Regions from separate parts of the Homo sapiens genome. Here regions 2, 3 and 4 are each linked to region 1. Evidence: promoter capture Hi-C in 16 types of primary human blood cells and fetal thymus (Javierre and others, 2016). All regions are on one chromosome and are shown on one strand. The core of a region is centred on a gene start or on the middle of the fragment in contact, and the rest is flanking DNA. Distances in the headings are between cores, read along the strand shown.

Region 1 (5,582 bases), core at 1,963-4,462:
CTAACACAGTGAAACCCCGTCTCTACCAAAAATACAAAAAATTAGCCGGGCATGGTGGCAGGTGCCTCTAGTCCCAGCTACTCGGGAGGCTGAGGCAGGAGAATGGCGTGAGCCCAAGAGGCAGAGCTTGCAGTGAGCCAAGATCACGCCACTGCACTCCAGCCTGGGCGACAGAGCGAGACTCCATCTCGAAAAAAATATATATAGTTATATGAAGGAGACAGACAAAGAAGTGCACATACAATATGATTTCATATAAATCTCTAAAAATGTGAACACATCTATGGTGACAAAAAGCATATCAGTTGTTGCCTGGGGATGGGAGTGGTATGGGAAGAGAGAGGGATTACAAAAGGCACAAAGAAACTTTTGTAAATGACAGAGATTATTCATTATCTTGATTGTGGTGAAGATTTGACAGGATATATATATAGATGTCAAAATGTATCAAACTATACACTTCACTGGCATATATATATGCCAAATTTATCAAATTGTATATTTTAGATATGTGGAGTTTACTATATGTCAATTACACCTCAATAAAACTGCTTTAAAACAAAGCATAACCAACATCCCAAATCAGGATATTTATTAGACCATCTAAACCAAGTTTGTCCAACCCGCAGCCCACAGGCCACATACAGCCCAGGACAGCTTTGAATGTGGCCCAACACAAATTTGTAAACTTTATTAAAACATTATGAGACTTTTTTGTGGGTTTTTTTTTTTTTTAAGCTCAACAGCTATCGTCAGTGTTAGTGTATTTTATGTGTGGCCCAAGACGTTTCTTCTTCCAGTGTGGCCCAGGGAAGCCTAAAGATTGGACACCCCTAGAAACAAAGTAAAATACAATATGTAGAGAAGTTGCCAGGAGGTTAAAGATAGTCACTTTGAGAATTCTTGTTACACCTACCTCAGCTGCTTGCTTTATTAACTTGCCTTCATTCTCAGGCTTTGGAATTGAACTCCAGTCTGCTTTCTGGCTGGGTGTGGTCTCCAAGCTAACTACAGCCTTCTCCCTAAATGATTTTGCAATCACAAAGTTAACAAATATCACTATTTCATAATTATTGGAAAATCTGTATTACAGATTTGTGATTTTTAAGATGGCTTTTGGTTTGGAGACTGTAGGGAACATTTCCCCCCGTTTGTTTCTGTGAACCCATTAGCTTTCATACAAAAGAATTGCTGTTTGCTGGTTTTCTGACAATTGTTCAAATGCTAATGATAGCAAGAAGCAGTTTTGGGGGTTTTTATTTTTTAATTTGCTAATAATGTCTTTTTAATGTTTATCAAAGTGATACTTGCACATGGTTTCCAGTACATAAGAATTTATAATGAAATGCAAGGAGCCTTCCTCCTTTCCCTTTTCATCCCAGCCCTACTGCCCAGAGGCAAACCCCTTGAACTCTTTCTTCCAATAATTAGCCCCAGATTTCTAAGAAAGCTTGATAAGCCACAACACTGCAACTGCAAGTAATATGAATGAAATCAGTATATTTCTCCCTTGAAACAAAATGTTACAGGAGAGGACAGAAATGAAAGGCAAGAATATGCTTTCAAGCATATTAAATTAAGGTAGTATAGTAGAGTAAAATACTTCGAAGCCAAAAGATCTAGGTTTGAATCCTAGCTTTCATGATTGCTGTCCCACCTTGAGCTAGTAAATTAATGTCTGACTCTCAGCTTGATTATCTTTAAAAATAGAGATGAAAATGTGTCTCACAGTGGTCAAGAAGGTGAAAGGACACAGCACATGTAAACATCTGGTATACCACCAACTCAGAAATGACTTTTTCTTTACCTTTTCCCATGCTTTAAACTCTTCTCCAGAAAAAAATAGTGTGTGGGGCAGAGGGGACACCCCTCATTTTCAGTAGAGCTCCTCTCCAAAATTTCAGCCCCTCGGAATTTTTTAAAGCAGCAATCATCATGTTGTTAATGAAAGTGAATTCAGGAAATCTGCCAAAGGCCGACTCATTGTTCACTGATTAGTGAGACCAAGGACAATACTGTAAGCCTCCTGCTAAAGCCATTCATTTCTCTGGGGTCTAGAGAATGGCCTTGTGGCTAGAAACAGCTGCAACGCATGCCTGTGGCCAGCAGGTCCCAAGCCCAGTACCATCTGTTATCACCCAGGATCACACCAGCCTTCCCCTTGCTGGGTACCGGCTGGCTGGTTCACACAAAAACCACCTCTGGGTTTGTTTTACAGAACTGCATTCCAAGTCAATTCTCCAAAAGATTTCTTCCACCCAAAGACCCCAACCTTACAATCTTCTTACCCTTGCTGGATGCTTCTGCCCTGTTCTAATGTGCCCGGCGGAGGCTGCTTGGCTGGGAGCTGGACCAACGCTGCGAATCCCACGGATTCTTCTAATTCAAGGGGGGAAATGCTATTTAGACCTGTGAAAGGAGAGTTCGAGCAAGCACCTTGACCGCTACGGAGAGTGGGCTCAGAGCTCTAGTCTAGCATCGTGCCTGGCCCCTGGTTAGGCCTCAGAAAATCTTGGGATGAATGGAGAGGGTTGTGGAACTAGGTGCTGGAGCGGGTTCAGTTCCTCTGCCAAAGAGAGACTTTGGGATTCCTGGGAACGGAATCGGGGAGAGGATGAAGAAGGGCGCCTCGCCTCTATCCTAAGCCCGATGGGAGGAACCTCTGCCGAGCCAGAGCCGGTCTTAACACCACCCTCCGGAGCTGCCACCACTGCCTCACTTCCATATGAGATATAGCGGGAAGGAGGGAGTGGCTGCCTGGCTCGCTTTGATTAGCTTTATAACAAGCGGTCGTTCTGAAATACTCGCTCATGATGGCTAACAGACAACACAATCGCCAAATGTCTTAAGAAAAGGAGCTTTGAGGGTAACCGCCCGCTGGGACCTGAAGGACAATTGCGGATTGTCCTTCAGCCGCATTCTTGGGGCTGACCTGAGTGGGGCACAGCTGAACGTCTGAGCGCAGGCGGCTGGTCCTTGGGCCCGGTACTGGCGGTTCGCGAGGCGGGTTTGGGGAGGGGTGGGGGAATCCTAGGGAGGCGGAGCGCGTACTCCCCCTCGGCGCCCGGGCTCAGGCCCATCCCGCCTCTGCGGCCTCGCCGGCCCCCAGGCCTTGCAGGGGACTACGCCCCTGGCGAGTTCCCAGTCGGCGCGGCCCCTGGTCGGCGGAGCCGCGGAAGCTTGGGCACTGGGGGCGGCTCGGGGAGGAACCGCGGAGGGGAAAGCGCCGCGGGCTGCAAACGGCAGAGGCGCGCGGGGTGGCGACAGTGGCGCGGGCGCAGTGAGCGCGTCCGAGAACAGAATGGGACGAAACGGGGCGCTTAGAGGCCCGGGAATCTGTGGGTCTTTTAGGCGGAGAGGGGCGAAGGAGGTTATTCGTTTTGGGGAAGGTCATGGAAACAGCAAAGGCTCAGAGGTGGTGCCTAAAGTGGCTGGAGAAGCTGAACGGTTTGGAACAGAGGCGTGACTTGGAGGGGTAAATGGAGACCAGATTAGGAAGCCTTGGGAGGCACAATCAGGGGTTAAAATCTTGAACAATTCAGAGTTGTTTTATTTTTAAAAATATATAGAAAATGAAATCTACACTTACGTAATAGATAACTTATGAAAAAGTACATGGAATACACATGTTGCAGTCTTGCCAATGTACCTTAATGTAGCAGTTTCTCCTTGTCTGGACTGATACCCGGGATTCTTTGTCCTACTCCAAGAAAATTAAGGAACGGGACATAAGGTGAGGTGGGAGCGAAAGTTTAATAAGCGAAAGAAGAAAGCTCTCCACAGTGAGCTGAGTATGCAAGTGGATTGCCCTGTTACAGCTGAATTCAAAAGCTTTTGCAAGAAAATCTCTTATCTCTGTAGTAGTTTGAGTAACTTCTCTTATCAGTAAAGCTGTCTTACGCAGCTGTGGTTATGTATCTATGCAAGCACAAAGCACCGCCTTTTTTGTTTGCATAACTGTGGGTTTGTTTTAGGTAAGCCCCCCTCCTCCCTGTGAAAGTTCCCACCATGTATATGCCTGAAAAGGGGAGAAAACTTTCCTGGGAGCTCCCTAATTATACAAAGAACAAAAGGCTTCTGTGCTGGACCCTGTCTGCTTATCTGTGTGCAGGTGGAGCCTGAGTTTTTTACCAGGTTGTTTTATTTTTGCCTGTTGCTGTGACTTTTCAGGCAGGCCGCTTCTGCATTGAGTCTTCCCCAACTGATTTTCTCTTTCCTTCTCTCTCGCACACAGTTAGGAAACATAATGTAATTACTACCCATGACAAAACCATCCTACGTAAGAAATGGAACATTCCTAGTACAGATGCTCCCCACCTATGGATTCCTTCCTTATCCCTTCTCCCTCTGCACGCCCAACGTCTATCCTGACCTTTGTGTCTGTCATACCCTCACTTTTTAAAATAGTTTTTTAAATCGCTTCTTTGTATCCCTAATACATCACTTTGTTTTGCTTCTCTGAAACTTTATAAAAATGGTGCTATGGTCTGGGTGTTTGTGACTCCATAAAATTCATGTGCTAGAATTCTAACCCCCAAAGTGATGGTATCAGGAGATGGGCCCTTTGGTCATGAGTGGGATTCATAAGAGCCCTTATAAAGGAGGTCCTGCAGAGCTACCTAGCCACTTCCACCATGTGAGAACACAGCAGTTGCTGAGACCAGTCCCTCACAAGACAGGAATCTGCTGGTGCCTTGATCTTGGACTTCCCAGCCTCCAGAACTGTGAGAAATAAATTGTTGTTGTTTATAAGCCACCCAGCGTATGGTATTTTGTTATAGCAGCCCAAATGGACTAAGACAAATGGTATCATGCTGTTAAGTTCTCTTCTGCAATTTTCTTCTTTCAAAGTTGTTTCTATAATACATACACAGTGCTGTATAGTCCTGTAATTCATTTTCACTGCAGTAAAATATTCCACTATGTGGCTATACCACAATTTATTGACCTAGTGATAAAGCCACTTGGTGATTTGTTGGTTCTTTTTTTTTTTTTTTTTTTTTTCAATTTGGGGTTGGAAACAATTGAGAAGAACCCAATTTGTATCCTGGTGTATGCATGCAGACATCACACAAGATGTAATACCTAGGAGTATATACAAATATCCAACTTTACAATAAAACACTAGAACTATTTCCCCAATTGGTGGTCCCAATTTCACTTCTACCAGCAATGGGTAAGATTTATTAATTTACATCCTCACCAACACTTAGTATTGTCACACTTCTTGATTTTTCCAGGTGAGTGAATGTAAAATAGTATTTCACCAGCGTTTTAATTTGCATTTCCCTGATCACTAATAAAGTTGAGACCTTTACATATATTTATCACATTCCCTCTTTTTAAAAGTGTCTGTTCATGTCCTTTGCCCATTTTTCTTTGGAGTTGTGTTCTTTTTGATTTGTAGAGCTCTTTGTATATTCTTGATACTCATCTTTAGTCAGTTATACTTGTTTACACACATTTTCTTGCAGTTCATGGCTTGTCTTTTCACTTTCTTCATGATGTCTTCTGACAAGTAGAATTCATGTCTTTTCTTTTGTGGTCAGCTCCCTATCTTTTCATGAAGTCTTTCTTGCCCT
Region 2 (5,582 bases), core at 2,245-4,744, 220 kb after region 1:
CAATTCTTAGGATGCCATAGGCATTTGGTTTGTACCAACGTATTCAGACGTTGCATCACCTAAGATTTTGAAGTAGATAAAAGCTCTTTGAATTATCTTCCTTAATATGTGAATGGTAGGAGGGAAAGTGTCTAAAGCTCTACATGAGGATTTTCTGTATTATATACCAGATGAAGGTGGTTACAGTTTGCCAATATGCCTTTTCTCTCCCTAGTAAAAAGGCATGTGGTCTGGAGTCTCTATGTCAAGAGAGTTTTTTGAGAATGTGGTGTTTGGGGACATTTATTGGGGATTTACTAAGTGGCAGCTACTACTGTGAACATGTATTAACTCATTTAATCCTCACAGCAGTTCTAAAGTTAGGTGCTTTAATTTTCCCATTTTGATGAGATTGGATTAAGCAGTTTACTCAAGGCCACACGATTAGTAATTGTGATTAAAGGACTTTGATTTTTTTTTTTTTTTTTTTTGAGATGGAGTCTCACATTGTTGCCTGGGCTAGAGTGCAGTGGTGTGATCTTGGCTCACCGCAATTTCCACCTCCTGGGTTCAAGCGATTCTCCTGCCTCAGTCTCCCGAGTAGCTGGGATTATAGGCATGCGCCACCACACTCGGCTAATTTTTTTGTATTTTTAGTAGAGATGGGGTTCTCCATGTTGATCCGGCTGGTCTTGAACTCCTGACCTCGTGATCAGGACCAGCTCGGCCCCCAAAGTGCTGGGATTACAGGCGTGAGCCACCGTGCCTGGCCGACTTCGAATTTTTTAATAAGAATTTTTTGGCCGGGCGCAATGGCTCACACTTGTAATCCCAGCACTTGGAGAGGCCGAGGCAGGCGAATCACCTGAGGTTGGGAGTTCCAGACCAGCCTAACCAACGTGGAGAAACTCCGTCTCTACTAAAAATACAAAATTAGCTAGGCCTGGTGGCGCATGCCTGTAATCCCAGCTACTCCGGAGGCTGAGGCAGGAGAATCGCTTGAACCCAGGAGGCAGAGGTTGCGGTGAGCCAAGGTCACACCATTGCACTCCAGCCTGGGCAAAAAGAGTGAAATTCCATCTCTCAAAAATATAAAAGAATTTTTTATTTGGGTCTAAAAATTTAGAATTTAGAATATGACTACCAACTTAATTTCTTAGTCTTTGTTTCAGATAATATATCTCAGTGGAGTATTTAGAGTTTAAGAAGATGAGTAATCATGGAGCTGAGTACTTGATAAGTTTGAGAACATGTTCATGATCATTGTGGGGATATGACATTTTTTACCTCTTACCATATATCGATTCTCACCCACCCCCCATTTTTTGAAACAAGGTCTTGCTTTGTCACCCAGGGTGGAGTGCATGGCTCACTGCAGCCTCGACCTCCTGGGCTCAAGCAGTCCTCCCACTTCAGCCTCCCAAGTAGTCAGGACCACAGGTGTATGCCACCATGACTGGCTAATTGTTTAATTTTTTTGTAGAGATGGGGTCGCACTGTGTTGCCCAGGCTGGTCTCGAACTCCTGGGCTCAAGCTGTCTCCCTGCCTTGGCTTCTCAAAGTGCTAGGATTACAGGCATGAGCCACCACACTCAGCTGATTCCCTTTTTAGTAAATCTACTAGATCTATGACTTTATTTGTTAATAATTAGAGTAGCACCATGTTTTTAAGTGATTAGAACTCTTGAAAATGAATATCCACACTAAATTCCATTATAGCAAAGAACTAATTTAGAAAATGTTCATAATGAGAGTTTTGATGGCGATTTGTTTTGAGTAGTGTTGAAAGGCTCTTAGAGTGCATGTGAAGGGATGAATCTTTTGAGAAAAGAAAGATAGTAGACATTTTCTGAGACATAAAATAATCCAGATTTATTCCACCAGACAGCTTTACAGTGTATAGTATTTTAAGAGCTAACTGCCTTCAGATTCACTGGACTTTTCTGTCCTTTTGCCAGGTACTGACTTGGGCAACAGCAGTGACTACAAGTGCCATACTGACCAATTGGAAGAGTCTTTGCTTATCGGAGCTGTTCTAAAAGGCTTATTAGTTTTTGGTCTTCATTCTATTTAATGTTTTCATGCCTTTATAAACTTTTTACTTCCAGCCCAATTTTTCCCATTGTCTTGGTACAGGTCAGCTGTGTCCAAGTTTGTTAGGGTTTCAGCTAGCCAAAAATGGTATTTTCATTTGCTGAAATTCTAAACAAAATAATTAAAGTTAAAGCACAGATGATGATGCTACCTTATTTTTCTACATGTGGGAAAGCTTGATTGATAGTAATGATTAGCGCCTGCATCTCACAATCACTGAGAAATGAATGCAGCACTGAGCTCTGTTTGCCCTCTAAGCTTGTCCCCAGAAAAAACAAGATATACCCTAAATAGTAAGTTATAATATTTTTATTAGGGAACATTATTAGAGTTTTTTTTTAATATATCTCGTAGCCATGTCATATTAATCTTTTTTCTTTTTTCCTTTTTTTCATTTTTCTCTTTTCTCTTCTCTTCTCTTCTCTTTTCTCTTTCTCACTCTGTCACCCAAGCTGGAGTGCAGTGGCATGACCATGGCTCACTGCAGCCTTGACCTCCCAGACTCAAGCAATCCTCCCACTCCAGCCTCCCAAGTGACTGGGACTACAGGCACGTGCCACCATGCACGGCTAATTTTTCTATTTTTTGTAGGGGCAGGATCTCAGCATGTTGCCCAGGCTGATCTTGACCTCTTGGACTCAAGCAATTTTCCCTCCTGTGCCTCCCAAAGTTCTAAGATACAGGCATGAGCCACCACACCCAGCCTAGAGAATCCTTAATGTTTGAAGTCTGTCAGGCTATCATGGTGCTCAGCAGAGGATGTGTTAGTATTCTGAGAATAGGACTTCTAACTTTAGTTTTACCTGAGATTATTCTACACCTAACTTGAAACTTTTGGAGTATTAAAGGTTCAAAGAAGTTAAGAGAAAAGCAAAGCTTGATAAACTGACCAGTTTGTGTCCTGCTAAAGCATAGACAGTTTTACCATGCTCTTCCCAGTGACATGAATATTCTTTGGTTAGCATTCAATTTGGTTGCTTTCTTTTTTGTTTAATCAGGCACTGTCACCACTGTATTATTGTCATCATTTTGCTTATTGATTTTGCTTATTGTCTGCCTTCCCCTCTGTGTTGTAAGCTCCATAAAGGCAAGAAATTTTTTCTGTTTTATTCACTGCTTTAAGCCCAGTTTCTAAAACAGTGTCTGACACGTGGTAGGCACTCAATAAATACCTGTTGAATTATTACTAATTCATTTTGTAGACTTTCATCTGTAAGATGACAGATCTGAATCATCTGAAATCTCCATCTCCATAAAACATATAAGCTGGCTGGGTGCAGTGGCTCATGCCTGTAATCCTAGTACTTTGTGAGGCTGAGGCGAGCAGATTGCTTGAGCTCAGGAGTTCGAGACCAGCCTGCGCAACGTGGTGAAACCAGCTCTCTACTAAAAATACAAAAAATTAGCCAGGTGCGGTGGTGCACGCCTGTAATCCCAGCTACTTCGGAGGCTGAGTCAGGAAAATCGCTTCAATCTGGGGGGCGGAGGTTGCAGTGAGCCGAGATTGCACCACTGCACTCCAGCCTGGGCAACAGAACTAGACTCTGTCTAAAAAAAACACACAAAAAACACACAAAAAAACATATAAGCTGAACCTCCCCTGTGGGGTGGAGTCAGTTTGACTCACCTCAGAGTTGTTTGAAGAGAGAGGTTCCCAAACAGTTTTACCATAACCTTAGTTCACTGAATGTTTTGTGGTAGAAACACTGACTAGTAAGTTCAGTAACAATGCATGGCTCAGATTGTGGAATATTTCTGATTTAAATGTAATCTGTAGTACTTCACACTTCAGATTTTTGAACCTTTTAACCTACAATACTGGGCTTCATTTCTGTTATGCCCTAATCTAGTCATGCTGAATATCCATACTGTATAATGGTAGATGCAAACCATGTTTACTAAATTAGAACTACATATGAATTACAGTTTACTTCAAGTGTTTTGTTTTGGTAATATAGCTTTGCCACCAAGCTTTTACAGTTTTCCTTGAATGTACAAAGACTTTTTATTCTAATAACCAGATTACAGTTATACTATTTCTAAAGCTCAGCTCTTATTACATCAAGTTTCAGTGATGTGTTGAAGTAGGGGAACTTTATATGGCATTTCAAAACATTTTCATAATACTGGAATTTTATTTATTGTAAAATATTTTTGTCTTTAATAAAATAATTTTGAATGAAGTCATAATTTTGCTTTTATCTGGTATTTGGATGTTTACATGAAAAAGGGAACATAAGCTGAATAAAGGTAATCCCAAAAGAACTTCTCTGTCACATTTTCCCAGTTACTCATTCATGCTCAAGGCATTGCTGTCCTGAGCCTACTTAGGTCTCAGCTGACCAAGCTGAATCTTTGATTCACTTATTTGGGGCTATTTATTTAAGACCCACTTTGTCCCAGCTCCAAAGATACAACAGTATGCAAGAAAGACAGCGCCCAGGGTGGGCGTGGTGGCTCATGCCTATAATCCCAGCACTTCAGGAGGCCGAGGTGGGCAGGTTGCTTGAGCCCAGTAGTTTGAGACCAACCTGGCAATGTAGTGAGGCACCAGGTCTGTAGAAAGTTTAAAAATCAGGCCAGGCGCGGTGGCTCATGCGTGTATTCCCAGCTCTTTGGGAGGCCGAGGCAGGCGGATCACGGGGTCAGGAGATCGAGACCATTCTGGCTAACACGGTGAAACCCCGTCTCTACTAAAAATACAAAAATAAAATTAGCCAGGCGTGGCGGCGGGTGCCTGTAGTCCCAACTGCTTGGGAGACTGAGGCAGGAGAATGGCGCGAACCCGGGAGGCGGAGCTTGCAGTGAGCAGAGATCGCGCCACTACACTCCAGCCTGGGCGACAGAGCAAGACTCCGTCTCAAAAAAAAAACAAAAAAAAAAAAAAAAGAAAAGAAAGTTTAAAAATTAGCCAGGTGTGGTGGCATGTGCCTGTGGTCCCAGCTACTTGGGAGGCTGAGGTGGGAGGATAGCTTGAGGCCAGGAGGTCAAGGCTGCAGTGAGCCACAATTGTACCACTGGCACTCCAGCCTGGAGGACAGAGGGAGACCCTCTCTCAAATACAAACAAACAAATAAATGAAGTAAGAAAGCACCAGCCCTTGGGATATTTGTTTTGATCCTTTTCCCCAGTAAAAATTTGTTAGAGTGGGAAGTTAGAAAACAGTGTGGTAGATTGATGGCTACTATGGTATTAACTGATAAGACTTAACGTATTACTTTGAGAAGGATATTTTCTATTTTAAAAGTAATTCTGGAGTTAACTCTGTCTTTTTTTTTTTTTTTTTTTTTTTTTTTGAGACAGTTTCACTCTTGTTGCCCAGGCTGGGGTGCGATGGCGTGACCTCAGCTCACTGCCATCAATGTCTGCCTCCTGGGTTCAAAGGATTCTCCTGCCTCAGCCTCCCGAGTAGCTGGAATTACAGGTGCCTGCCACCACGCCCGGCTAATTTTTTTGTATCTTTAGTAGAGATGAGGTTTCACCATTTTGGTCAGGCTGGTCTCGAACTC
Region 3 (5,582 bases), core at 1,679-4,178, 180 kb after region 1:
CTGGAAATAACAGACACAACTTCCAGATCAGGCATTTTCCCCCTGCTTGCTGGCTAGATGTAAAAGTGGGAGTGAATCATCTTGGGCCAGGCATATGAGGGCAACACCCCAGGAATGCTGGAGAAACAAGAGAGGTCAGATTTCGTATAGCAGAACTGCCATATTGGTTCACTTCTGTGTGAAAGAAAAATAAATGTCTACCTTGCTTAAATCACTTATTTGGAGGCTCCATCAAATACAGCCAAGCCTAGCAGCCAACACAACAGTCTTCCAGGACTTTACAATTAAGTTCATCATACCAGATCTTTTTGTTTTATCTATTTCACTATTAAAAGTTTACTGAGCGAGGCCAGCCTCGGTGGCCCATGCCTGTAATCCCAGCACCTTGGGAGGCCGAGGCAGGCAGGTCACTTGAGGTCAGGAGTTCGAGACCACCCTGGCCAACATGGTGAAACCCCATCTCTACCAAAAATATAAAAAATTAGCTGGGCGTGGTGGTAGGCACCCGTAATCCCAGCTACTCGGGAGACTGAAGCAGGAGAATCGCTTGAACCCGGGAGGCAGAGGTTGCTGTGAGCCAACATTGCGCCACTGCACTCTAGCCTGGGCAACAGAGCGAAACTCTGTCTTTTAAAAAAAAGCGTACTGAGCAATGTGAATGTAATGAGCAATATCAATGTAATGACACACAGCACATACAATAAGCTATTGTTTTTTTGTTTTTTTTTTTTGAGACGGAGTCTCGCTCTGTTGCCCAGGCTGGAGTGCAGTGGCGCGATCTTGGCTCAGCGCAACCTCCGCCTCCCGGGTTCAAGCGACTCCCGAGCAGCTGGGACCACAGGCATGCACCTCCATGCCCGGCTAATTTTTGTATTTTTAGTAGATAGAAGGTTTCACCATATTGGCCAGGCTGGTCTCGAACTCCTAACCCTGTGATCCACCTGCCTCAGCCTCCCAAAGTGCTGGGATTACAGGCGTGAGCCACCGCACCCGGCCAATAAACTATTGTAAAATGAATGAATGACATGTACCATAATGTGGTTGAAGGCTACAACCCAAAGGATCCAAGTGGCATTGTCAGAGCAGTAGACATGGAAGATAAAGTTACGTGGTTACAAGATGGGGTAATCCAATGATAAGAATGTATACAGTTGAGACTGGGCATGGGGGCTCATGCCTGTCAATCCCAACACTGGAAGGCCAAGGTGGGTGGATCACCTGAAGTCAGGAGTTCAAGACCACCCTGACCAACATGGAGAAACTCTGTCTCTACTAAAAATACAAAATTAGCTGGGCGTGGTGGCACATGCCTGTAATCCCAGCTACTCGGGAGGCTGAGGCAGGAGAATCGCTTGAACCCCGGGAGGCGGAGGTTGCGGTGAGCTGAGATTAAGCCATTGCACTCCAGCCTGGGTGACAGAGTGAGACTCCATCTCAAAAAAAAAAAAAAAAAAGAAGAATGTATACAGTTGTGTACAGTGAACTGCACTTCAAGAGAAGCTGAAGACTACTGAGGACAGCTATGGGGGAAAAGTCCTTACTCATCTCTTCCTCTCCCTGTAGCACGGTACCCAAGAATAAAGGAAGGGAACCAGGCTCTGTTTAGTTGGAAGAGCTGGGGTGATTCTGCATTTCTCTTCACACCAGTAATATAAGCATGATTATCAACACCCACCAGATTAAAAAAGATCTTGTTGGCCAGGCATGGGAGGTCTCGCCTATAATCCTAGCACTTTTGGGAGGTTGAGGCAGGCAGATCACCTGAGATCAGGAGTTCGAGACCAGCCTGGGCAACACGGCGAAACCCCATCTCTACTAAAAATATGAAAATTAACCAGGCTTGGTGGTAACGCGCCTGTAATCCCAGCTACTTGGTATCACTTGAACCTGGGAGGCAGAGGTTGCAGTAAGTCAACCACTGCACTACAATCAGGACAACAGAGCAAGACCCTGTCTCAAAAAAAAAAAAAGATGTTGTTCACTGACAGTGATCCTTGGGTTTGGGCTTATGTAAGGGAAGAATTATTTTGAGCTGTACACACCAATAATGCAAGTTAAATGGAGCTGCTTATATATTACACCTTTTTTAAGACTGGGTCTCACTCTGTTGCACAGGCTAGAGGTGCGGTGGTGCAATCATGGTTCACTGCAGCCTCAACCTACCGGGCTCAGGCAATCCTCCCACCTCAGCCTCCCAGTATCATCTCACTGCAACCTCTGCCTCCTGGGTTCAAGCAATTCTCCTGCCTCAGCCTCCTAAGTAGCTGGGATTACAGGTACCCACCACCACGCCTAATTTTTGTATTTTTAGTAGAGGTGGCGTTTCACCACCTTGGCCAGGCTGGTCTCGAACTCCTGACCTCAGGTGATCCACCCGCCTCAGCCTCCCCAAGTACTGGGATTACAGGCGTGAGCCACCGCGCCCGGCCTACCCTCTATTTGGATGATACAACTTCACAGATCTCTAACTTGCATTTAGTCTAAATGTACAACTGCCTAAGGGACAGATTCACCTGCTTACTCTCAGAAGTAACCTGTGGAAATATACAAATTTAGGACTCAAAACACAAGTTCCTGTTCCAGCCCTGCCACTAACAACCTGTGTGATCCTGGGCATGTCTAGTTTTCAGTTTCATCACTAAAATGGGTCAAGTGCTAACTGGGTGTGGTGGCTCATGCATGTAATCCCAGCACTTTGGGAGGCCGAGGGGGGTGGATCGCACACCGTGCGATCAAGTGATCTATCCACCTCAGACTCTCAAAGTGCTGGGATTACAGGCATGAGCCACCGTGCCCGGTCCACTTGTCAGGAATCTTAAACTCTGGAGATCTAGTCTCCGGGGAGGGTACTAAAAATATCTGTAAGTGGCAACTTTACATGCCTTGTCCCTTTAGAGAAGCAATTATTTTCCAAGGTCTAATTCTGCATACTGCAACAACAGTTAATGCTGTATTACATTACTTACATGAATATGGATAACGTGATGTTTTTGCACAGACACAAAGCTACAGCTGGACCACTGTTACATCTATCATTCATATGTATTTATGTGAATTTACAACATATGTTTAAAATTCCAGAAATAAACAATTCGTAAGTCTTAAGATTGCAACGCAGTTCTTAGTACCATGATGAAATCTTGTGCTATCCTGCCTGGGACATGAATCATTCCCTTTTCCAGAGTATCCACACTGTATATGCTACCATGCCCATTAGTTATTTAGTAGCCTTCTCACTGATCAACGTAGTGTATACAGGGCTCAGTGCTATCAGCAGTTTCAGGCATCCACTGGGGGCCTTACAATATATGCCCCTCAGATAATGGGGACTACTTCATTGCTGTAAATAGCTCATGATAATATTCTATCACTCATCAGTTCAAGTATGTAGAAAATGTTGAAAATCTTTGTATAATTAGAAAGCATTTTTTTTTTTTTGAGACAGATTCTTGCTCTGTCGCCCAGGCTGGTGAGCAGTGGCGTCATTCCTGCTCACTGCAACCTCCACCTCCCAGGTTCAAGTGATTCTCCCACCTCAGCCTCCCAAGAGTTTAGGATTCCTGAGAAGTGGGCCGGGTGCAATGGCTCACGCCTGTAATCCCACCACTTTGGGAGGCCAAGGCGGATGGATCATTTGCAGCCAAGAGTTTGAGACCAGCCTGACCGATATAGTGGAACCCTGACTCTACTGAAAATTCAAAAAAATTGGCCAGGCGTGGTGGTGCATGACTGCAGTCCCAGCTACTCGGGAGGCTGAAGCAGGAGAATCACTTGAACTTGGGAGATGGAGGCTGCAGTGAGCTGAGATCGCGCCATTGCACTCCAGCCTGGGTGACAGAGCGAGACTCTGTATCAAAAAAAAAAAAAAAAAATGACAGTGTAGACTAGGGTTTCTCAACCTCAGCACTACTGACATATTGACATTGGAGCTGCACAACTGTTGTGGGGGGCTATCCTACGCACTACAGGCTATTGAGCAGCATCCCTGGCCTCTACCCACTAGATACCAGTAACACTCCCCACAACAGGTTCTAACACCCAAAAAACGTCTCCAGTCATTGCTAAATGCTCCAGGGGCAGGAAGAGGCAATATTACCATAGGTTAAGAACCACTGAGTAGAGTCAGCCTTGGTGTTTATCCTTACCATTCAAAGAGTTCTGAATACAAAGTAACCAACCAGTCACAGAAACACTTTGCTGAGTAGATTCATGTATGACTCAGGGTAAAGTTATGACCTGAGTTTTCCAGTCTCCTTATAAAATATCATATTCTCCAAAGGGCAAGAGCAACACACCCAAAACAGAGGCATACCATTTTCATGCCTTGTTCTTGCTGGCAGTCTTTAAGGTTTCTAACTGACAAAGCCAGAGAAAACATCATCACAGGCAAGAGTAAGTATACTAAGACCTTAGCCAACTCTAGAACTGCTGGGTGTGGTTCCTTCTGGTGGTGGAGGGGTGGGTGCTTTTATATACCGTTTTGTCTTAAGGCAGTGATTGTGCCAGTAGATACACTGCAATACGCTTAAGGCTGTTTCAGTGAAAATACTATTTAAATCTAATTAACCAGAATACTGGGCAAATTTTATATTTGTCTGTTGTAGAAAATCTTTTCGCCATAGCACAGAAGGCTGAACAAAACCATATTTTTTGTTGTTGACTAAGGATTGTGTAATGCTTCATAGGTTTACAAAAATTATCTATGACTAAATGGTACTGAAGATTCAGAAAATCCAAGGAGAGGGCTGAATCTGAAAATGATGCCAGGCTATATCACAAGTGGAGGAAAAAAACCTTTTTAATGGAATGAGCTCAGTAACACTTTTGTATCTCTTTCCTAAGAATAAGAATGCCACCAAAGGTTTGAATTAGCTGTGTTCCTTTTTTTTTTTTTTTTTTTTTTTTGAGACAAGGTCTCACTCTGTTGCCTAGGCTGGAGTGCAGTGGCAAGAACAAGGCTCACTGCAGAAAAAAGAAAAAAAAAAAGGCTCACTGCAGCCAACTTCCTGGGCTCACTCCATCCTCTCACCTCAGCCTCCTGAGTAGCCAGAACTACAGGCCTGCAACACCACGTTGGCTAACTTTTTTTTAATTTTTTTTTGGGTGGGGGGGGGCGTCTCACCATGTTGGCCAGGCTGGTCTTGAACTCCTGACCTCAGGTGATCCACCTGCCTCAGCCTCCCAAAATGCTGGGATTACAGGAGTAAACCACAGCTCCCGGCCAAGTAAGGATTTCCTAATTAGCGCCTACTATACCAGGAAAGCCTGTCTTCTAATCTGTTAACATACTTCAGCTGTGAAATATATCTAAGGTGTTCTGACAATCGAAATACCACGCAACTGGGCCAGGCGCCGTGGCTCACACCTGCAATCCCAGCACTTTGGGAGGCCGAGCTAGGAGGATCACCTGAGGTCAGGAGTTCAAGATCAGCCTGGCAAACATGGTGAAACCCCGTCTCTACTAAAAATACAAAAATTACCCAGGCGCGGTGGAGGGCGCCTGTAATCCCAGCTACCTGGGAGGCTGCGGCAGGAGAATCGCTTGAACCTGGGAGGCGGAGGTTGCAGTGAGCAGAGATCGC
Region 4 (5,582 bases), core at 1,906-4,405, 150 kb after region 1:
GCTACCGCACCCGGCCTCTACCTTATCCTTTTTAATGACTGCATTTTATTCCTTTCTGCAGATGTACCTTAATTTTTGTTTTTGTTTTTGTTTTTTTGAGACAGGGTCTCACTCTGTCACCCAGGCTAGAGTGCGGTGGTGCAATCACAGCTCACTGTAGCCTTGACGTCTGGGGCTCAAGCAATCCTCCTACCTCAGCCTTCTGAGTAGCTGGGACCACAGGGGTGTGCCACCATGTCCAGCTAGTATTTTTTTTTTTTTAGCGATGGGGGGGATCTCCCTATGTTGCCGAGGCTGAGATGTACCATAATCTAACCAACTCCACATAAAGACACATTTGTGTTGTTTCCAGTTATTCTCTATGATAATAATGCTACCATAGTATCTTTTTTTTTTTTTTTTTTTTTTTTTTTGAGACAGGGTTTTGCTCTTGTCGCCCAGGCTGGAGTGCAATGGCGCAATCTCGGCTCACTGCAACCTCTGCCTCCCAGATTCAGGCGATTCTCCTGCCTCAGCCTCCCAAGTAGCTGGGATTACAGGCACCTGCCACCATGCCTGGCTAATTTTTGTTTTAGCAGAGACAGGGTTTCACCATGTTGGCCAGGCTGGTCTCAAACTCCTGACCTCAGGTGATTCGTCCACCTTGGCCTCCCAAAGTGCTGGGATTACAGGCGTGAGCCACTGCACCCAGCCAGTATACATATTTTTATCCACTTATTTAAATAGTTCCTTAGGATAAACTCCTAGAAGTGGGATAGTGGATCAAAGGACGTGAACATTCTGAATTCTGATGCTGCCACGTTACAATTCATAAAGATGATCATTTATTACCAATGCTTTTGTGCTTTCCTGATTATTGTGATGCTGCACATATTTTCATTAATATATAATGACCATTTGTATTTCTTCTTTTTGGACTTGCCTTTTCATGTAAGAAAGGAAGATTTAAGACTTACCAGTGCATTTTATATAGCTCTATCTTGATGAGGAAACCAAATAGTACATAATTATGAGACTAAAGATTGCTCATACAGAATTTGTTCCCTATTTTATAAATGTTATATATGAAACTTGACACGCTTAATATTTAGTGATTAAACCATTCATAATCTACATATATGTATAGTGAGTTGAACAGCATCCCCCTCCCCAACAAAATGCATGTCCACCTGGAACTTCAGAAAATCTTATTTGGAAACAGTCTTGCAAATGTAATTAGCTGAAAGGAGGTCATACTGGATTAAGGTGGGCCCTAAATCCAAAGACTGGTGTGCTCACAAGAAAAAGACAGAACACACAAAGAAGGCGGTCATGTGACAACAAAGAACCTGGAGGCAACTAAAGGTACAAGTCAAAGAATGCCAAGGACTGCTGGCAACTTCCAGATGCTAGGAGAGAGTGTGGGACAGGTTCTCCTTCAGAGTCTCCGGGCGGAACCAACCATCATTTTGGACTTCTGGCTCCCTGACTTGCGGGGGAATAAATTTCCGTTGTCTTAAGCCACCTAGTTTGTGGTAATTGGTTAAAGGCAGCCACAGGAAATTAATACAACCAAAAGTGACACAAATTTCAAAAGCCAGGGTTACTGAACTTTAAAAAACTCTGCCTACTCCCTGAATGATAAAAATGAAAATGAACTTTAAAGCAATGCATTGGAATACTAAAACTGAAACTATGGAAGAATGCCATGTGTGTGTGTTTATACTGGATAATCACTAGGAGTCACTCTAATTCACCCTCTCCTAACACCTCCATTTAAGAATTCCACTGGACACATTCCCTATCAGTGATGAACAAATCTGAGTTCAGGTTGGGAAAAGTACAACCAATAATGGAGCATTATAATCCTAAACAATATATTACCTAGAGACATACACATACACACTTAACTTTCTCTCCCTACTCAGCTCTGAAAACTCCCTTGAAACTGCTTTTCAGGTAAAAGGTTCTAGGTCCACTGCTTGCCAAGCGGATTTCTCTCCCCAAGCAATAATCTTAGATTTTTCAATTGCCATGAAACAGGCCAGGGAAGTCTCCTCCTCAGGAAAGCTGTCAATCACGTAAAAGTATCAGAGAAGTGACAAATAAAAGGTAAAGGTTAAGTCTCTTTAACTCAGTTTCTTTGCAATATTAAGACCAGCTAGAATGAAAATCTTGAGTTGAACATTCATTTTCTTGGATCAACTAAATCAAATAGGTTGGAAATGATGCATTTTATATTTAATATGAGGCTATGAAAACCATTCACTTCAAAACCTTTTAGTAGTAACTAAACAGTACATATCCTCTAAATGATTTCCTCCATATAACAGAAGAACCCCTATTTTAGCCCAGTATGGGTTTGGAGCAACAAGAACTTGGATGTAGATCTACGCCTCACCACTTACTTAACTAGCTGAGCACTTTGAGCAAGTTACTTAACTTTCCTCCTTTTCCTTAACTATTTTTGCCATTTTCCTCACATATAAGATAAAGGAAATGACATCAAAGTCATTGGAATTACTGGGAGCATAAATATCAAAGTACCTAGCATAGTGTTGCAAACATTACCAGGAATCTGAGAGACTCGGATAAGCTTATTAACAAGTGCTCAGTTTAACACATGTATAAATTAAGGGCTAGCCATTTAATGACTCAAGGCCTTAATGAAAAAGGAACAAAGATAAGATAATGGAGCCCAAGAGTCCCAACTACGATTCCTCTCACCTACCATTTAGTTAGCACTTCCTGATATTAGCACATGACCCAGCGTCAGGTTTTGCTATAATCACAAATAAGATGAAAATAATAGCTCTGCCATGCATCATGCTGCCTTCCCTTAGGAAGTTAATTTTACTTAATATTAGCTGACTAATGTTTAGTCTTCCTTTATTTAGCATTTGTATCTCTTGTAAACCAAGAACCATAATGAGTCTCTTTAGAAAGACTACTAATGGATATGAACACCACCATTTCAGGTGGAGAAGTCAAGGTAAACTAATTCTGATGGTCTCAGTAAGTCAGGAGCAAAATCTGAACTAGACTTTAAATACTACTCTTTCTAAGAGAGCATACCATTTTTCTTAAGCATTCACTTGATTTGTAAGTGATTCATTATTTTTAATTCCAAAGATCGAATCACAGGTTTAAAATAACACCTGGAACACACCTTTTAATTTCCCATCAAAGTCAGGGCTTGTGGCCACCTGGAGTCCTGGATGTGGTAAGAGAAAGCAGGTGACATCGGAGAAACATGAGTGAATGTGATTTCGAACATTCTGAATTTCTTCATGTTGATGTTCCTTCACCTGCCAATGAAGACCAAGAATTTACCAACCAAAAGTCATTTGGTTTTCTTCACTAGGGACAACTAGTATAAGGACAAAGGAAAGAAGACTCCTCAACTCTGATGGATCATAGTGGCCAAATGAGAAAACTCAGAACCCTAAGAAGCAATAAACACACAAATCTGATTACCTACGGCTTGACTCCTATAGCTAGCAAACAGGTGCATAAGAGTTTCATTAAAATGAGTATTACACAAGAGATGGTTTGTGGGGATGAAGGAGGATCTAACCAATTAGTAGTGACAGACAAAGGATTCCTGTGTTTTGGTTTGGGGGAACAGGTTAGGCCTGTTTATATCTATCCCAAAATAAGTAAAAATTTTGAAGAATAACATAACTAAAATTCTGAGTATGATTTCTAAAGACACATATAGAACTTGGTTTAAAATGTAAAATGGAAATTATAATCAAAGCTTGGGCACTGGCCCAGAGTTTTCTTCTACAGTTCCTGTGTACTGTATATACAGGTTCTTTAATCTTGTCAAGAATAAATATTAGCTTGTGTTAAGATTCATATATAGTTAATGTATTCAATATCATTTTCAATAATTGCTTTAAACACAATAGCCAAAAGCAAATGAGAAAGCTATCACTACTTTGAGATAATTCATCAGAAGATTATAGTCCCACTTACCTGTAAACGCTTATCCAAAAATGCCATTCCTCCTTGGAGTCCATAGCTATATTCATAAGGGAAACTCCAATCTCTAACCAAAAACATCAGTGTCTATTTAAGAAAAGAGCGGAACATATTTTAACATGCATAAACACATTTTCAAGAGAACAACTGCAATACATCTTTGCATAATGCCAGCTTCTACAAAGGGGGTAAAGTAGAAGGATTTACCTTTTTTTTTTTTTTTTTTTTTTAAAGAGATTGGGCCTTGCTCCGTCACTAAGGCTAGAGTGCAGTGGCATGATCATAGCTCACTGTAGCCTAGAATTCCTGGGCTCAAGTGATCCTTTCACCTCAGCCTCCCAAGTAGCCGGGACTACAAGCACATGCCACTACTCCTGGCTTATTTTTTAATTTTTTTATATAGACAAGGTCTTGCTCTGTTGCCCAGGCTGGTCTTGAACTCTAGGCCTCAAGCAATCCTGTGGCCTTGGCCTCCCAAAGTGCTGGGATTACAGGTGTGAGCCACCACACCCGGCCAGATTTATCTATTCTGTAATGTCTTAGAAGTTTTACAAACACTGGAGGGACATGTTTAAGCCAAATATGAGGTCAATATATCCTATCTGCTATTTTTGTTCCCACAGGTTAGTAGGAACAGAAGGAAGACATTAATGAGAAAATGGTAAATTTGGGACTCTGCCTTAAAGAAATCTATGGGGAATACAGTAAAGGACAAAAGAGAAAACCACATGGCACCAGCTAATCATAAAATCAGATCTGTGGCCGGGCACAGTGGCTCACGCCTGTATCCCAGCTACTTGGGAGGCTGAGGCAGGAGAATCACTTGAACCCAGGAGGAGGAGGTTGCAGTGAGGCGAGATCACGCCACTGCACTCCAGCCTGGGTGACAGAGCGAGACTCTGTCTCCAAAAAAGAAAAAAATCAGGTCTGTTTTCAGCATTAGAAAGGAAGGCCAGCCACCGTGGCTCATGCCTATAATCCCTTTACTCTGGGAGGCCGAAGCAGGTGGGTCACCTGAGCTCAGGAGTTTGAGACCAGCCGGTCAACATGATGAAACCCCATCTCTACAAAAAATACAAAAAATTAGCCGGGCGCCTGAAATCCCAGCTACTCAGGAGGGTGAGGAAGGAGAATTGCTTGAACCTGGGAGGCAGAGGTTGCAGTGAGCCAAGATCATGCTACTGCACTCCAGCCTGGGCAAAATTTTAGAAAGAAACTCCATCTCAAAAAAAAAAAATAAATTAGAAAAGAAAAGAAATAAGGCTTACACACTGAAAGCACCTCTAATCCCATTGACTGAGGCTGCTGTGCTTCCTCATTCTCAAGAAACACTGAACTGAGGCATAGGTCAGCAAAGACTTTTTGCAGAGAGAGAGAGAGAGAGAGAGACAGAGAGAGACAGAGAGTGAGTGAGTGTGTATGTGTGTGTTTGTGTTGAGACGGTCTTGCTTTGTTACCCAGGCTGGAGTGCAGTGGCACAATCATGGCTCACTGCAGCCTTGACCTCCTAGGCTTAAGTGATCCTCCTACCTCAACCCCACCGAGTAGCTGGGACTACAGGCGTGCACGACCTTTTTATTTTATTTTATTTTTGTTTTTTTCTTTTTTTTTGAGAC

Evidence for each region. Contacts are between HindIII fragments. The CHiCAGO score rates a contact against its expected background, and 5 or more counts as called.
Region 2: a fragment that was not itself captured here is called in contact with the fragment with the promoter of PLAAT5 in region 1 in 1 of 17 cell types (activated CD4 T cells); the score reaches 5.3 in activated CD4 T cells.
Region 3: a contact is called between a fragment that was not itself captured here and the fragment with the promoter of PLAAT5 in region 1, in 1 of 17 cell types (megakaryocytes). The highest score is 5.1, in megakaryocytes.
Region 4: a fragment that was not itself captured here is called in contact with the fragment with the promoter of PLAAT5 in region 1 in 13 of 17 cell types (naive CD4 T cells, total CD4 T cells, non-activated CD4 T cells and 10 more); the score reaches 8.7 in naive CD4 T cells.

The regions. Positions count from the first base shown.
Region 1 is chr11:63,487,955-63,493,536 of GRCh38, forward strand. It overlaps PLAAT5 (phospholipase A and acyltransferase 5), which reads right to left and starts at 3,213. Exons shown (of 6, transcript NM_001146729.2): 1 at 2,933-3,213; 2 at 2,289-2,379; 3 at 917-1,022. The coding sequence starts at 3,080. The HindIII fragment of the contact is 652 bases long and covers 3,178-3,829 here.
Region 2 is chr11:63,712,034-63,717,615 of GRCh38, forward strand. The region is part of intron 2 of RTN3 (reticulon 3); the gene reads left to right. Among named protein-coding and RNA genes, the nearest start is that of RTN3, 33 kb to the left of the region's middle. The HindIII fragment of the contact is 1,095 bases long and covers 2,948-4,042 here.
Region 3 is chr11:63,663,910-63,669,491 of GRCh38, forward strand. All of the region lies in intron 1 of ATL3 (atlastin GTPase 3), which reads right to left. Among named protein-coding and RNA genes, the nearest start is that of ATL3, 4.7 kb to the right of the region's middle. The HindIII fragment of the contact is 7,847 bases long and covers 1-5,582 here.
Region 4 is chr11:63,640,209-63,645,790 of GRCh38, forward strand. It overlaps ATL3 (atlastin GTPase 3), which reads right to left. Exons shown (of 13, transcript NM_015459.5): 7 at 3,961-4,053; 8 at 3,149-3,287. All of the region lies in intron 2 of LNCROPM (lncRNA regulator of PLAAT3 mediated phospholipid metabolism), which reads left to right. Among named protein-coding and RNA genes, the nearest start is that of LNCROPM, 27 kb to the left of the region's middle. The HindIII fragment of the contact is 1,164 bases long and covers 2,574-3,737 here.